2 separate regions of the Homo sapiens genome follow, and region 1 is linked to region 2. Evidence: promoter capture Hi-C in 16 types of primary human blood cells and fetal thymus (Javierre and others, 2016). All regions are on one chromosome and are shown on one strand. The core of a region is centred on a gene start or on the middle of the fragment in contact, and the rest is flanking DNA. Distances in the headings are between cores, read along the strand shown. Region 1 overlaps FGD6 (FYVE, RhoGEF and PH domain containing 6). Region 2 holds the start of USP44 (ubiquitin specific peptidase 44).

Region 1 (3,016 bases), core at 220-2,719, 430 kb before region 2:
TGCTTGAACCCAAGAGGCGGAGGTTGAAGTGAGCTGACATCACGTCACTGCACTCCAGCCTGGGTGACAGAGTGAGTCCGTCTCAAAAATAAATAAATAAAAATAAATAAATAAATAAATAAATAAAGCATGCCTTCTTCCATATTTCAGATTCTTTTCTTGGGATCAGGGAGAATAATTTATTTATTTATTTATTTATTTTTTATTTTTTTTGCTTCATGATTTGTGATATAGAAAAAAATTAAAGTTAAAAAAAATTTTAGGCTGGGCATGGTGGTTCATGTCTGTAATCCCAGCACTTTGGGAGGGTGAAGGAGGTGGATCACCTGAGGTCAGGAGTTCAAGACCAGCCTGGCCAACATAGCGAAACCCTGTCTCTACTAAAAATACAAAATTAGTAGGGCATGGTGGTGTGCGCCTATAGTCCCAGCTACTCGGGAGGCTGAGGCAAGGAGAATTGCTTAAACTCCGGAGGCAGAGGTTGCAGTGAGCCGAGATCGCACCACTGCACTCTAGCCTGGGTGACAGAGTGAAACTCCACCTCAAAAATAAAATGAAATAAAATAAAATATTAAATTATTTTTGGGTGCTTGATACATATCACAAAAAACCTTTCCTAAAGGGATGTGAAACTTTTAATACAAATATATGAGAATAACAGTTTCAGTAAATGCCAATTTTGTGTGCTGCAGTTTTTTATTGCTAATAGAATTGGTAACTGTTTTATTTGATAGTTATCATTCGAAGGACACAATACACCACTATATATTTATTATGTGCTCTTTTTTTCTAAGTTATTATATTTGTTCATATTTTTAGTCTAGATGTCTATTTTTAGTATTTGTGCTGAAATGAAAATTTCCTAGAGGTATATTTTCTGATGTGCTGTTTGCCTTTTTACTTTGACTGTATTTTAAACTTTTATAATATTTTAATGTTATTATAATGGTGCAAATGTGCCTCAAAAAATAAAATAAATAAAATGAAATGAAAAGTGTCAATATTTTCATTTACAGGCTGGCTGCTGTGGCTCACCCCTGTAATCCCAGCACTTTGGGAGGCCGAAGCGGGCAGATCACTTGAGGTCAGTTGTTTGAGACCAGACTGGCCAACATGGTGAAACCCTGTCTCTACTGAAAATACAAAAAATTAGCCGGGCATGGCGGCAGGCACCTGTAATCCCAGCTACTAGGGAGGCTGAGGCCGGAGAATCACTTGAACCCCTTGAACCCAGGAGGTGGAGGTTGCAGTGAGCTGAGTTCACATCATTGCACTCCAGCCTGGGTAATAAGAGTAAAATTCCGTCTCAAAAAAAAAAAAAGATATATATATATATATGTATATATATATATATATATATTCCTTTATAATTAATTTTTCTGGGCCTACAAAACTATCTTTCATCCTGTCCTCATTTTAGAGTTTCAATAAATAGCCAGTTTTATAATTCTTCATATTTAGCTCTGATTTTATTTGTAGTATATGTATTAATGTAGGAACCTTAATTTGTTTTTCAAATTATTATTATTTTTGAGATGGAGTCTCTCCTGTTGCCCAGGCTGGAATGCAGTGGCATGATCTTGGCTCACTGCAATCTCCGCCTCCTGGGTTCAAGGGATTCTCCTGCCTCAGCCTCCCCAGTAGCTGGGACGACAGATGTGTGTCACAACGCCCAGCTAATTTTTGTACTTTTAGTAGAAATGAGGTTGTACCATGTCGGCCAGGCTGGTTATTTTTCAAATTATTAATAGGTTATTTAATAAACAATCTTTTTTCTATTGTCTTGGGTTTCCTACTTTGTCATACATTAGATTCTTATAAACAGTCCATTTCAAGTTACTTCCTTATTACATAAGGAATAATTCCTTTTATAAAAAAATTAATAGATCTATTCTTGCAATGCTATTGTGTAACTTTAATTGTTGATGCCTTAGAATATGTATGCACTGGCATTTGCCTCCCAGAATATTATTTAACAATGTACATATCCTATTTATTTCTATACACAAAATCATTTTGACAAGTAACAATAAAACTCCAAAATTCTAAGTTAAGTTTAATGAGAATATGTAATGTCATGAATATATTAGAAGCTAAGTAAATGGTACTATAATATAAGGTATCATTTTATGCACAAATGCTAAAACTGTGGCCTTCCTGAGGACAGAAAGCCTGATTTTAATTATTGTTGTAGCCCCTGCACCTAGAAGAAGATCTGCTATGCCAGGCACAGTGGCTTGCACCTGTCATCCCAGCACTTTGGGAGGCTGAGGCAGTTGGATCACCTGAGGACAGGAGTTTGAGACCAGCCTAGCCAACATGGTGAAACCCCGTCTCTACTAAAAATACAAAAATTAGCCGGGCGTGGTGGCTCATGTCTGTAATTCCAGCTACTCGGGAGGCTCAGGTGCGAGAACTGCTTGAATCCAGGAGGCAGAGGTTGCAGTGAGCTGAGATTGCACCATTGCACTCTAGCCTGGGCAACAGAGCGAGACTCAGTCTCAAAAAAAAAAAAAAAAAAAAAAAAGGCTCTGGCCTTTGGCTCTAATTCTTCTGCTTCTCAAATACTCATTCAATTCTAGTCCTTGAATCTGTATGTGGCCTAGAACCACCTCTTATAGATGTGGTGCTTGCCTAAGTTAGAAAGTGTCATCTCGGGAGGGGCACAGTGGCTCATGCCTGTAATCCCAGCACTTTGGGAGGCCAAGGTGGGCAGATCACATGAGGTCAGGAATTCGAGACCAGCCTGGCCAACATGGTGAAACCTCGTCCCTAATAAAAATACAAAAATTAGCTGGGCATGGTGGTGCATGCCTCCAGTCCCAGCTTCTTGGGAGGCTAAGGTAGGAGAATCACTTGAACCTGGGAAGTGGAGGTTGCACAGCCTGAGCGACAGAGTGAGACTCTGTCAAAAAAAAAAAAAGCGATCTTTCTGGGCTCTCAGGTTGCCTTTCTGTGAATTAGAAAAGGTCCCTTTCCTGGGCCAATGCACCCCCTCCTCACCAGGGCACAAAAT
Region 2 (2,905 bases), core at 303-2,802:
ATCACAGCACTTTGGGAGGCCAAGGCGGGTGGATCACCTGAGGTCAGGAGTTCGAGAGCAGCCTGGCCAACATAGTGAAACCCTGTCTCTACTAAAAATACAAAAATTATCCGGGCCTGGTGGCGGGCACCTGTAATCCCAGCTACTCGGTAGGCTGAGACAGGACAATCGCTTGAACCCAGGAGGCGGAGGTTGTGGTGAGCCTAGATCCACAATTGCACTCAAGCCTGGGCAGCAACAAGAGCGAAACTCCGTCTCAGAAAAAAAAAAAAAAAAAAAAAATCTGATATAACACAGGAAGTTCTTATGTTAACAAAATAGATACAAAATAGCAACAATGTCTAATCAATTCATGTTTGAAAAAAATACCAAATATGTACATTAAGGTTACAACTGCATAAAATGTAGTCATGCAAATAAAGATTAAAGGGATGAATTTGCATAGTTTAATACTCATTTTGTTCTTTTTTCTATATATTTAAGTGCATAATAATTCTGATTCAATAATGACCCCAGTGCACTTCTCCCACTCAAAACATCTAACCTCTATGTTGTACTTTTGCCCACCACCTGAATTTCTCAAATGCATTAAAAGCATTACATGAGGGCATCTCTTAAGATGAAATATTTAAAATTTAAGTATTTCTGGCATGCAATATGGTTTTTCCTGTAATTCCTTGAAAGCAAAATATTAATAATAGAAAAATCAAAACTCTTGCTTTCCTATTATAATGCCATAAAACCATTCTGGAAGGTCGTTTGGGAGATAGGAAGAGTCTTAGTTGCCTCCCTCTGATCTAGTAATTGGGCGGGGTCTTTTAAGGACTAAAATGATGTGAATAAATGAAGAGAAAAAGTGAAATGGGAAGAAAAGCAAAGGCAAGCTGTGTAAGGCATAGGTGGAGAGTGCTGAATAGTGTCTTCAATAAAATGCCTTAATACAATGATGTAAGCTAGGAAGAGGTGCGGAGTGGGAAGGGAAGAGGCTGGAGACAAATTCTCATTACTAGTGTTAGTAATTAAAGAGCAGATGTTTGTAGTTTAGCTTTTTCTTCATACTTATTACTACTTATTCAACTTTGAAATTTCCTCAGCTACCATTTTATTCATGATCTTCACTATCTAGGCCTAAATTATAGCATGCTCTAGCTCATTTCCTGAGCTCCAGAACCTCTCTATTGCAATTTTATTTTTACATAGCAATCATAGTCATTCTTCTCCTTAAATTTTCCTATTTGTTTTTTAACCCGTCTCATCGAATCTAAGCTTTTTACTGTAACATTAAAAAAAAGAAAAGAAAAAAGCCTCCTTCCCTGCCCACCTTCATCAATGATGTCCCCAAACTTACCTATTAAAACCTCAAAATCAGTCTTTCCCCAGGTCGGCCTTTGGATAACTCAGAGGTCAGTCCCTGCAGGATCGCCCAGTTTCCATCAGGGCAAATGCTGATCTCCTAAGTGAAAAGTCCTGGCGGCTGCCTCCAGTGCCCCCCTGCAAATCATTACAAATCAACCTCTTTCAGGTTTGGCTTAAACTCTCACCTCCTGGAAACTGCTTTCCTGAAGTCACAAACCGGGCGTGCAGATCCCCATCCCCCACCCCCAGCAGTGCATTATTATGCAGTCACTGCTTTTGTTCCGAGTTCTGAGCCTGCTTCTATTTGCATCGTAACCTCTTTGGGGGCCGGGACTGTGCACTTGCTCCCTTTCTATACCTCTCCACAGTTCCTAGTACCGGCCAAAAACACTGCTGAAATGCCTAATGAATCAACCAGAAGTTCCTTAGCATAATATAGGAGCGTGGAAGTGATGTTTAGGGGGGCTTCCCTTGCTTCCCTGATCCCCAGATGGAGAGAAATGGCAATTTGCCCTTCCAAGGTAAGCAGTTTCCTAAACCAGATAAAATTTTAACGATTCTGAAACCTAATGGATGTGTAACTACTCAATTCTGAGTTACTACACAAACAGTTTTGCCCTTTGTATCCTGAGAGAAAAGTACGAATGAATTAAAAGAAGACAAAACATTGTAAATTTCATAAACCTCAGAGTGGCTTTTTATGCTTTATGTCGATTTTTAGAATTTCCTAGTCCAGTCTTTCATGAATCGAAGAATATTTCAGGAATCATAATTGCAGACTAAAGAATTTATGAGCTTGTGAAATTTTAGGAATCACTTTTAAGACTTTTCAGAGTTTTACAGACAATGCTCTTACCTAATAACTAATATTCGCTTAACATTTTTTTCAACACCTAAATGCCTGGCACCATGCTAAGCATTGAGATATTCATAGCATTCATTTCAATGGTTATGAGGAGATGAAGGATTGAGCAGAGGAAGTGGGTAAAGAAACGCTAAATAACTCAGCCATAAACTTTTGATTAAGGTGTAGCAACACACTTCAGTTGAACTTTTTAAATGAGAGGAACCCAAACGACCTTAAATTTCTGGCAAATATGAAAGAAAGGAGTTGAGAAAAAAGGAGTATGGAAAAAAGAGCAGCAGATGTAAGCTATGGCCTTAGTGGAGGAAAGTGAGTAGAAGGGGCTTTAGAATTCGCCTTTTTTCTTTAATTCTAAGAATGAGGTTGGTAGCAGGTAAGGAAGGTAAATGCCAGCTGAGTAGATGGTACCAAAGTTGATTTGTTTTTAAAAGACCATTGTTTATTTGGTGGTCTGTCAGGGAAACTTGTACCTTGCAGGTGAATTTCCAACATAGGCCTACTGGAAACTGAAACCCTGAGCCCCAGGGTTTAGGTATAAATGGAAGCAAAATTGTGAAGTGAGTCCATTTCTCCCCCTTTTTAAACATAAACATCCACTCCACCTCCACCCTATACTCAGTTTTTCTTTTCTTTTCTTTTCTTTTTTTTTTTTTTTTTGAGACAGAGTCTCGCTCTGTCACCCAG

Evidence for each region. The method cuts DNA at HindIII sites, captures the fragments that hold promoters and counts their contacts. A CHiCAGO score of 5 or more calls a contact.
Region 1: a contact is called between a fragment that was not itself captured here and the fragment with the promoter of USP44 in region 2, in 9 of 17 cell types (total CD4 T cells, non-activated CD4 T cells, erythroblasts and 6 more). The highest score is 10.1, in total CD4 T cells.

What each region holds. Positions count from the first base shown.
Region 1 is chr12:95,120,143-95,123,158 of GRCh38, forward strand. The region is part of intron 8 of FGD6 (FYVE, RhoGEF and PH domain containing 6); the gene reads right to left. Among named protein-coding and RNA genes, the nearest start is that of NR2C1, 48 kb to the left of the region's middle. The HindIII fragment of the contact is 9,066 bases long and covers 1-3,016 here.
Region 2 is chr12:95,549,924-95,552,828 of GRCh38, forward strand. It overlaps USP44 (ubiquitin specific peptidase 44), which reads right to left and starts at 1,553. Exons shown (of 6, transcript NM_032147.5): 1 at 1,349-1,553. The HindIII fragment of the contact is 4,508 bases long and covers 1,265-2,905 here.